2 separate regions of the Homo sapiens genome follow, and region 2 is linked to region 1. Evidence: promoter capture Hi-C in 16 types of primary human blood cells and fetal thymus (Javierre and others, 2016). All regions are on one chromosome and are shown on one strand. The core of a region is centred on a gene start or on the middle of the fragment in contact, and the rest is flanking DNA. Distances in the headings are between cores, read along the strand shown.

Region 1 (5,099 bases), core at 189-2,688:
GTAGAGAACTGAATAATTCTACTAGTGGAAACTGTATCAATTACAATAAGGGAAGATTAGCACCAGTGAGCACACTTACTACCAGGTAGAGGAAAAGTCCAACACTATTGCAAAATGAGATTAATCAAATGTCTGCCTCTACAAAGTCAACTCTGGTCTCCTGGGAGCCCCTCCCAATATTAATATGATGCTAATAAGGCATGCAAAATGTTCCAACAATGTTAACAGACCAGATATATCTATATGTATATTTAACAAGACAATGGTATACAACCAACCCTCTAAAAGGACAATTTTGGGGAAAGAACATGCTGCAGAAGGTGTGGGCTGCTGGGCAGCTCAGAATCTTGCATCCCTATTCCTGTAAGTGCTGAGGTATTTTCATATTATTTTAAACCAATCCACATATCTTGAACATCATTTATTTCACCAATGAATTATTTCTAATATCAATTATGATAGCTAATTAACATCCCCTAGTGAAAGTGGAGATTATAGTGGTTAAAATGCCTGTTGATATATCTAATTTTTTTTGTTTTTTGAGACGAAGTCTCGCTGTGTCGCCCAGGCTGGAGTGCAGGGGCGCAATCTCGGCTCACTGCAATCTCCCGGGTTCAAGTGATTCTCCCGCTTCGGCCTCCTGAGTAGCTGGGATTACCGGTGCGCGCCACCACGCCCGGCTAATTTTTTGTATTTTTAGTAAAGACGGGGTTTCGCCATATTGGCCAGGCTGGTCTCGAACTCCTGACCTTAGGTGATCCATCTGCCTCGACTTCCCAAAGTGCTGGGATTACAGGCGTGAGCCACCACGCCCGGCCGATACATCTGATTTTTTAAAGGCCGTTTTGTTGTGCGAAGATCATTAGTTAGAATGCCTGGCTGGGTAAATACAACCGATGACTGCTGACGATATGGAACAGGCACAAGACTTCTGAACGATATGTAGAATAAATTATAACTTATCTAGAACACAAGGTAACAGTGGAAGATAATGAGCCAGGTGGAAGTTACAAATGTTGCCGCAAGTAGTTTCTGTTACTTTACGAGTTCTGGGAGCTTCTCTAACAGCTTTGACAGGAGTGAATCCCCAAGGCTAAACCCAAATCCTTATTTGCCGCCTACTCACGCCTTTGTGAGGACTACGATTCCCAGACGGCAACGCTCCCTTCACTCAACTTCCTTAGCTGGCGGGGAGACGCAGTTTACAGAACTACCTCCCCAACCGAATTTCACACACCTGTCACCTAGGACGCGGCCGGGAAGGCCTCCCTTCGATCCGCGTTCTCCCCATTTTGGGGTGTAGCTTGGATTCCTGAGCCCAGTTTTAGTGCGTGGCCGACCGGGAGGCCGGCGAGGCGCTCTAGGCCGAGCGGCTTCGTCTCTATGACCACAAGGGGCGGTCCCCGGTGTCCTGCGCGGGGGCGCGGAGGGGGCGGGCGTCAGTTCCGCGGGGGGCTGTCGGGGAACCATGGCTGCCCCGAGAGGTGAGAACTGGGTCTGCTGGGAGTGGGGAGTCCGCGGGGGGCGGCGGCGGGCGAGCATCTGCGCTGGTCAGCCCCTGTCGGGCAGCGGAGCACCCTGGTTGCCCAGTGCCTCTGGGGCCTGGCTGAGGCGTCAGGAGTTTGCGTGGAGCCGCTCCCGGCAGTCAGGGCAGCCTGCCTTCCGCTGCGGCTGCAGTCTCCGCGGCTGACTCCGCGCTGGGCAGGTCGGAGTCAGAGACCGCACTGACCTCCACTAGCTGGGAGTGGGTGGGAACCGAATTCTGACAGGCCGGGGCTGCGGCGGACCCGGAGAGAGGCCAGGGCGTGGGTCCGGGGCTGGACCGCATTACCCAGCGAGGCAGGACAGTTCTTCACCCTGGCCCCGCGGCTCCGGTCTCCTCTGCGCCTCCTACCCTGTGGATGCTCAGAGGCTTAAAGGCAGGCTCCGGGCGCAGATCCCATGCGGCGGCTGGGCCATGCAACAACCACTAAAGACATCACTGGGGCGTCAAAACAGCACTGAAATCGTAACGAAAGGAAGATAACAGTCGTTAACAGTTCCCACCTGTATGCTGTGTGTAATTATAGAGAATGCTGTATGCTGCTATTTGGGGTGGAAGCTGAGATCCACCTCCCTCCTCCTGAGGGATGGCACATTCGGGTGAAGGCGTATTTGTTGACTAATTGACATTTAAGGAGGGCGAGTCTAATTGACTCCGCACCACTTTTTGCTGAGCAGTGTGTGTAAGTTGGGACCAGAGGTGGATTCTTTGACTGTGGTGCATTAACCAGGAGAAGTTGGGCAACACCCGGATTCTTGCTCCACCCTTCCTCCATAGAGCACTTGGCTTCACCCTTGAATAAATATTGAACGAATACATAAGGAATATCTTCTTGCGTGGGTTTCAAGTTATTTTCCCTGTTGCGGGGTCCATGTTTCTCATCAGGCCCTGCCCAGGGGCATTGTCTTTAGTTGCATATGCTTCTCTTATGTCTTCTTTCTGTTTCATTTCAAATAAGTCCAATCTTAAAAGCCTTTTTTTGTAGCAACACAGGAAATAAAAGAAAAAGAAATAGAATTGTTTTGATAACTAAAATGGAATGGGGATAGCAAAATTGATCCGAACGAAAACTTATAAATTACAGAAGTCAAATCATTACTTGAAATAGCTGCAACAATGTAAAGGTTTAGGCTTATTGCCAATACATATTTGTTGAGCCTTGATTGTAATCCTAACAAAACTACAGTTTCCATAGTTTCCGAATATCCACAAAGGATTTATCTGGGACTTACAGAATTTCTAAGTTCTTAAGTATTACAAATAATGTCCCCATAAACTATAGTAAAACATAACCGAAAAAAAACATTTTAAACTGTAAGTTTCTTTTGGGGGACATTTCCACACAAACACTATATGGGAGCTAATAGAATTTCGTGAGAAGCAGGGAACAATGCAGGGTTAAGATGTGGCTGCCAGTTGAGTTGTGGGCTAGCTTTATAGTTACTGGCATTGGGTGTGATTTGAATTATTTGCCCAATTTGAAGTGATTACATATGGACTTTTGCTGTTACCCTGAAATAATTGAAATTGCTAATAACTGAAGTTTTATACTGGAGAATTTGTGAATGGAGTGAACAAGAAATAGTTTGGTCTGATGTTAAACTGCCAGAGAAAATCGTACTTAAAAACATTTAGTATTTAAAAGTTGAAATACGTTTAAAAACTGGTATTCCATGTCAAAGCCCAATCTGTTTTGCACATACCTAAACTTATTTGATTACCCTTCCACTTAGATCAGTAGTTATTTTCAAGAATATAATATATATTCCCATATACTCACTATGCAAAAAGGTATTTTTTCAAGTTAATGACAATATTATAAGTCAGAATATGTTTGTAGGCTATCAATATTTGGTTTAGTGTTTAAATATTCACTTTGTTGTTTTTGGAATCAGGAACCTGTACAGTAGCTAAAATAAAGTACTTTTTAGTTTATCAGCCCTAACTTCTCTTATTTATGAAAGTGTTGATAATCTAGGACATGAGATGGCAAACTTTTCCTGTGAAGGGCTGGATAGTCTCTTGTCATAACTACTCAGATCTGCTGTTGTAGGGAAAAAAAAGTAGCCTGGATAATTTAGAAACAAATGAGCATGGCTATGTTCTAATAAAACTATTCATGGACACTAGAATTTGAATTTCCTGCAATTTTCACATATCACAAGATGTTATTACATTTTTTATCAACCATTTAAAAATGTAAAACAATCGTGAGTTCACAGGCCTCATGTAAACTGGCGACATATATAGTTTGTTCACCCTTTATCTAGAAGATGGGAAGTGCCTTCTCTTCTACTGATTAAAGGTTATTGCTGTATATTTTTGAAGTCATATTTCTTCCCTTGTGTAGGAAAGTTTTAGAACAAAGGAAGTATTATAGTGATCTCCTTCACTTCCTTTTATATAAACACTGATTTTTTGGCTCCTCAGATCTTTTGGAAAGAAAGTTTAAGCAGTTAAAAACTATTTCTTCTGTTTTACTTTTTATTTAAAACCTGATATGGTTTTTAAAAATTGCCTACAATTCAGAAAATATTCTTTAATGCACTCGGGAAAATATTTATATTGAAGAACCTGTTTCCTTGTAAGATCCAACCATACTGTATCTAAAGATAATCTGTTTGAAACTCCTGTTTTATTTCCCTATGAAAACTATCTTTGAATTGTGATTAGGCTCCCAAAGCAGTGAACAAAATCTTACTTAGCATATAATGTAGTTAAAGTAGCAGGCTGGAGTCACCTGGTGTCCTTCTGGTTCTTAACCTGGAGTTGTCAAAGTATGGCTCTGGAAAGCCTAAAATATTTGTTTCTGGCCCTTTGCAGAAAAATTTGCTGATCCCTGTTTAACCTTGAGCCTAAAGATTTGAATGGAGGTGAAGGGGAACTGGGGGACAATAGGTGGGAGGTGGGTGAGGAAAGTAGAAATAGTTTGATCCTTGGGTGATGGCAGTACCCGAGCAGGTCTGGGAATAAGGAAGTATGAGGGAGACTTGGTACCCACTGCTTATGGTTTTACCAAAGGTCTTGGACAGGCTCTGGTGCCTGAGAGATGGCTGCTGCTCAGATATACTTGCAGGCAATTCTTAAATTAAGTGTTTATATGTTTCCTGCATTTCTAGTTTTATAGAGGTGTGTTCTTAATATTCTTTTCCTGTGTTATGAATTATTGTTTTGTATAATGCAATGAAATGAGTGGCTAGTTGTAAGTTCTTATTGTGAAAAAGTTTTATATTAAGCCCCACTCATTTCTCAATTATTATTTTCTTTCTGCTGCCTTTAAATCTAGAATATACATTGCTGCAGTTGGTTTCATGCTTTGCATCCACAAGTTTGTAATCATAAAAATATTTAAAATATGTGCTGGGGCCAGGCGTGGTGGCTAATGCCTGTAATCCCAGCAGTTTGGGAGGCCGAGGTGGGTGGATCACCTGAGGTCAGGAGTTCGAGACCAGCCTGGCCAACATGGTGAAACCTCTTCCCTACTAAAAATACAAAAATTAGCTGGGTGTAGTGGCGGGTGCCTGTAATCCCAGCTGCTCAGGAGGCTAAGGCAGGA
Region 2 (5,099 bases), core at 1,246-3,745, 350 kb before region 1:
TCTGTTGGATATGTTGCGGGGGAAACCCCTCACACATCTGGTCACATAAGTGTTCTGTGTTGACTGTGACAGTATAGCAGAAAGAAAAAAAGAAAGCTTGTTTTTCCTTCAGATAGACTAAGCAGTTAGTATGTATCATGTTGATATAATTATGTCTCATAACTACCCTGAAAGATAGAAAATGTTATCGTCATTTTACAAAGGTTTAAACCCAAACTCAGACTTTTCCCCTCCCAGAATGCTCTCTGACTGGATATCAGCATTGTTCTCACATGTAGTATACTCACTTTAAAAGCACAACCTAAATGAATTAAAGAATAGCGCAACATTTTCTGACCTAGAATTGGTATGCCTTAAGCATTGCTTTAAATGCATGCTACCTTGTTTACCTTTATTAACTTTACACACATAAACCTGTGAGTTTAGATCCCAGAAATGCTTTATTCCCATTTTGTAAAGGGGAATTTTTTAACCCACTAGCTTATTATATCTTTCTTCCAATGTGTATTCTAGCTCCATGCTTTTTAAACTAATGCTAGGATTCTCAAACCAAGGTTCACCATGAGGATCAGGCATTCTTTAGATAAAGCTATTTCCTTATTAACATTATTAACCTCTCTTATTATCTTGTGGAGAAATCTATTACAAAAACTGTATTAGTTGGAATAGACTGGGTTATATGGTAGTAACAAATTAATCCTGAATTCTCAGTGTCTTAACATAGTTAAAGTTTTTGTTTGTTTGTTTGTTTTGTTTTGCTTTGTTTGAGACTAGGTCTTGCTCTGTAGCCCAGGCTGGAATATGGTGGCAAGATCACAGTTCACTGTAGCCTCAAACTCCCAGGCTCAAGCAATCCTCTCACCTCAGCCTCCTGAGTAGCTAGGACTACAGCATTTTCCACTATGCCCAGCTAACTTTTTTATTTTTTGTAGAGGCAGAATCTCACTATGTTGGCCAGGCTGGTCTCGAACTCCCAGACTCAAGCAGTCCTTCTACCTCAGCTTCCCAAAGTGCTGAGATTGCAGGCATGAGCCACCACACCTGGCCAATAGTGAAAATTTATTTCTTGCTCATTATACATGTCTATTACAGGTCAGCAAAAGTCCCTGCTCCACGTAGTCACTCAGAGACCTAAGTTGGCCAATGCCCACCAACTTGTAGATGCCCCATAGGGAATACACAACTTCCTCAATCAGGAGAAAAAAGAGACTAGAAAATTATACATAGACTTTTTACTACCTCTGCCTGAAGATCAATTTGGCTTTCATTTTATTGACCAAAGCTAGTCACATGAGCTCACTAACTACAAGGGGGCTGGAAAATGCAAGAGGATCAAATGAAACAATTGATAAGTGTTACTGGCTCTGTTACAAATCATATAATAATTTTCTAGGCTTTCATTTATCTTCTACTCCTTTGACTTAGAGGACAAAATGAATTATTGGTCACAGTGAATAAACTCACTTTAAAATTTTGTTTTGTTTTGCTTTTGATGCCCATTTAGAATCTGTATATATTTGCATTTGCTTAAGCATTATTCTGGAGGTGGGGAAGTGGTTTCTTCATGTATCAGCTAACAATTTCCATTGAGGCAAAATAGGAATCTGTAATATTCACTCTTTTACATTACCTTTATTATTTGACACTATGATTTAGATATATGACCCTACTCTGAAAATAAGGAAGATATTCTTTTATATGTAGATGACATGCCTCTATTTCAAGTACTCCAAGATTGGCTTTAAGAGAGAATCAACCTTCCTATCCCATTACTTCCCAAAAAGGAGCTAGAGACCAAGTACTCTAGAATTAAACCATTATTTTTGTTCACTATTACCCAACAGTAAACTGGTTCATAATTTACAACTCCATAAGTCCATTATCAATATTTTACACTTTAACTTAATATGTTCACCAGGAAATTATATTTCTTAAAGTTATACACTCTGTGGTTCCTTTTCTGAAATAGTTTTATGGCTAAGGCCAATGTTCAATTATAGTTGCCCAAAGTTTTTCCAAGGTAAAATAATTGTGGACATGATTAGAGTGATGGAATTTGACCTTCTGAGATCTCATTTATCTGTGTTTTAGAGCTCATCACATATTACTTTTGGAGAAGAATCTTGCCCTCTGCAAAGGTGTTGCCACAGGCATCTCTGTGCAGAGGTGAGGTGGCTGCCTTGTTAGGATTCTGAACTGTGCTCCCAGTCATTCCTAACTAATACCTGAGTGGCCTACTAAATGACTAATGACTAGGTAGCATATACAGCGTGTTTATGTTGGACAAAGGGATGATTCACATCCCGGGCAGGACAGAGTGCGATGGCAGGAGATTTCACCACACTGCTCAGAACAGCCTACAATTTAAAATGCATGAATTATTTCTGAAATTTTCCATTGGATATTTTCAAATCATGATTTACTTTAGTATTAAATCATGGAAAATGAAATCGTGGGTAAGAAGGGACTACTGTACTCACAGTTATGGCCTGAACTTAACAAGAGAATGAAGGGCCTCTCACTATGTTCTGTGCTCCAAACTTGCTCTTAGCTTTATGTTACTTTCTTTTTTTTTTTCTTTTTTCTTTTTTTACTTTAAGTTCTGGGATACATGTGCAGAATGTGCAGGTTTGTTACATAAGTATACATGTGCCATGGTGGTTTGCTACACCTATCAACCCTTCATCTAGGTTTTAAGCCCTGCATGCATTAGGTATTTCTCCTAACGCTCTCCCCGCCCTTTCCCCCAACCCCCTAACAGGCTCTGGTGTATGATGTTCCCCTCCCTGTGTCCATGTGTTCTCATTGTTCAACTCCCACTTATGAGTGAGAACATGTGGTGTTTGGTTTTCTGTTCCTGTGTTAGTTTGCTGAAAATGATGGCTTCTAGCTTCACCCATGTCCCTGCAAAGGACATGAACTCATTCTTTTTTATGGCTGCATAATAGTCCATGGTGTATATATGCCATATTTTCTTTATCCAGTCTATCACTGATGGCATTTGGGTTGGTTCCAAGTCTTTGTTATTGTGAACAGTGCTGCAATAAACATACATGTGCATGTGTCTTTATAGTAGAATGATTTATAATCCTTTGGGTATATACCCAGTAACGGGATTGCTGGGTCAAATGGTATTTCCGGCTCTAGATCCTTGAGGGATCATCACACTGTCTTCCACAATTGTTGAACTAATTTACATTCCCACCAACAGTGTAAAAGCGTTCCTAAACCCTGATGTTCCATTTACTCTGGTTCCCTCATTTTATTTTGCTTTATTATTTGTAGCTTTTTAAGCTGTTAAAACCTTTTTGGAACCACACAAGGTATCAACTGACCTTTCAAAGTTTACTAATAGAAGGCCAGATGTGGTGGCTTATGCCTGTAATGCCAGCACTTTGGGAGGCTGAGGCGGGCAGGTTGATTGAGGCCAAGAGTTCGAGACCAGCCTGGCCAACGTGGTGAAATGTCCTCTCTACTAAAAATACAAAAATTAGCCGGGCTGGTGGTGCACACCTGTAGTCCCAGCTACTCAGGAGGATGAGACAGGAGAATCGCTTGGACTTGGGAGGCGGAGGTTGCAGCGAGCCTCCCAAGGTGCACCACTGCACTCCAGCCTGGGTGAGACTATCTCAAAAACAAGCAAACAAACAAACAAAAAGTTCACTAATAAGAAGGCATACATTAGTTATAGAAAACTTGACCTAGTATATGCCTGTTCTTTCTTCCTATCTTTCTTCCTATCTCCCCTCACCTTTCACAGTTGCATTTTCAATTACAAAAGAAAGACATGTCTTTCATGCATTCCAAAACTGACTGTATTGAATCGCCTTGAGAATGAAAATTCTAGAGTGAAAACATAGGGAGAATTCAAAATATCTGTGTTGATGAAGCCATCCTTTTTTTTCTTTTTCTTCAACTTTTAAGTTCCAGGGTACGTGTACAGGATGTACGTGTGCTTACTGTTACACAGGTAAGCAAGTGCCATGGTGGTTTGCTTCACAAATCATCCCATCACCTAGGTGTTAAGCCCAGCATCCACTATCTATTCTTCCTGATGCTCTTCCTCCCCCCCACCAACCCCCTCCCCACAGGCCCCAGTGTGCGTTGTTCCCCCGCATGTGTCCATGTATTCTCATCATTCAGCTCCCTCTTGTAAGTGAGAACATGCTGTGTTTGGTTCTCTGTTCCTGTGTTAGTTTGCTGAGGATAATGGGATGAAGACATCTTTAATGAGGACACCATAAACCCACAGTAGGTCTTAGCATTTTTCTCTGTCTTAAACCTATTTCTCTCTTTTTTTTTTTTTAAATCCTTAGGGGGATCCTTTATTTCATTCACCTCCTCCTTACAAGGTGGAATTTTAATAAGTACAGGTTGTGTCTGCCAATTCAGTCCATGACTCAGAGTATCACCTTGTCCTCATTCCATAGCATAAGCTGTTCTTGGGGGAGAGGCCCGAGGGTCGTGGATTCACTGGACTAGATGGGACATGATCCAGAACTTTACTACATTTGGCTTCCCAAGGATCCCACCACCTCCTTCTAATCAGTGATCATCGAGGAAACGCATTGTATTCCTATTCACTATTTCAAAGATCAGGCCTACCTCACTGGCATATCAAGAAAGTTTTCTCAAGTATATTTAGTGTTTATAATTTTCCTATAGTTCTTCAAATGTATGACATTCATCTTTTTCCCTACCTCTAAATTCCTTTCTTTTTCACATTATCTTTCTTGATTGCTTTTTAGTAGAAAAACAAAGACATGGATTTATTGTGCATATTAGCAGGTCCATCCTGGAAAATGCATGGAGGTTTCATACACATCACTTACAGTAACAGCTCAGAGTATAAAGTCGAGAAGGAAGAATCTGAAATATTAGACTTATTCTGAAATAAGCTTACCTAGGATGATACCACTTTTGATCAGAATTTCCACTTTCCAACTAGTTAACAGTGGTAAATATATAAAATCTGGTAGTTAAAATACATAGTAGTCACTTCATATTACTGCCTCCCCCAACCCACCCAACTTCTGAAGAACAGAGCTTTTTCAAGTTTTGTTCCCCTTTAAGTTTTAATTTAAAAAAAAATAATAAAA

Evidence for each region. Contacts are between HindIII fragments. The CHiCAGO score rates a contact against its expected background, and 5 or more counts as called.
Region 2: a contact is called between a fragment that was not itself captured here and the fragment with the promoter of SLC35A1 in region 1, in 1 of 17 cell types (activated CD4 T cells). The highest score is 5.5, in activated CD4 T cells.

What each region holds. Positions count from the first base shown.
Region 1 is chr6:87,471,536-87,476,634 of GRCh38, forward strand. It overlaps SLC35A1 (solute carrier family 35 member A1), which reads left to right and starts at 1,439. Exons shown (of 8, transcript NM_006416.5): 1 at 1,439-1,484. The coding sequence starts at 1,469. LOC124901357 (a long non-coding RNA gene) reads right to left here and starts at 1,410. Exons shown (of 2, transcript XR_007059668.1): 1 at 1,238-1,410; 2 at 1-963. RefSeq lists enhancers at 1,086-1,992, 1,988-2,157, 2,208-2,307 and a silencer at 1,398-1,537. The HindIII fragment of the contact is 12,962 bases long and covers 1-5,099 here.
Region 2 is chr6:87,115,990-87,121,088 of GRCh38, forward strand. No RefSeq gene overlaps it. Among named protein-coding and RNA genes, the nearest start is that of CGA, 23 kb to the left of the region's middle. The HindIII fragment of the contact is 4,802 bases long and covers 95-4,896 here.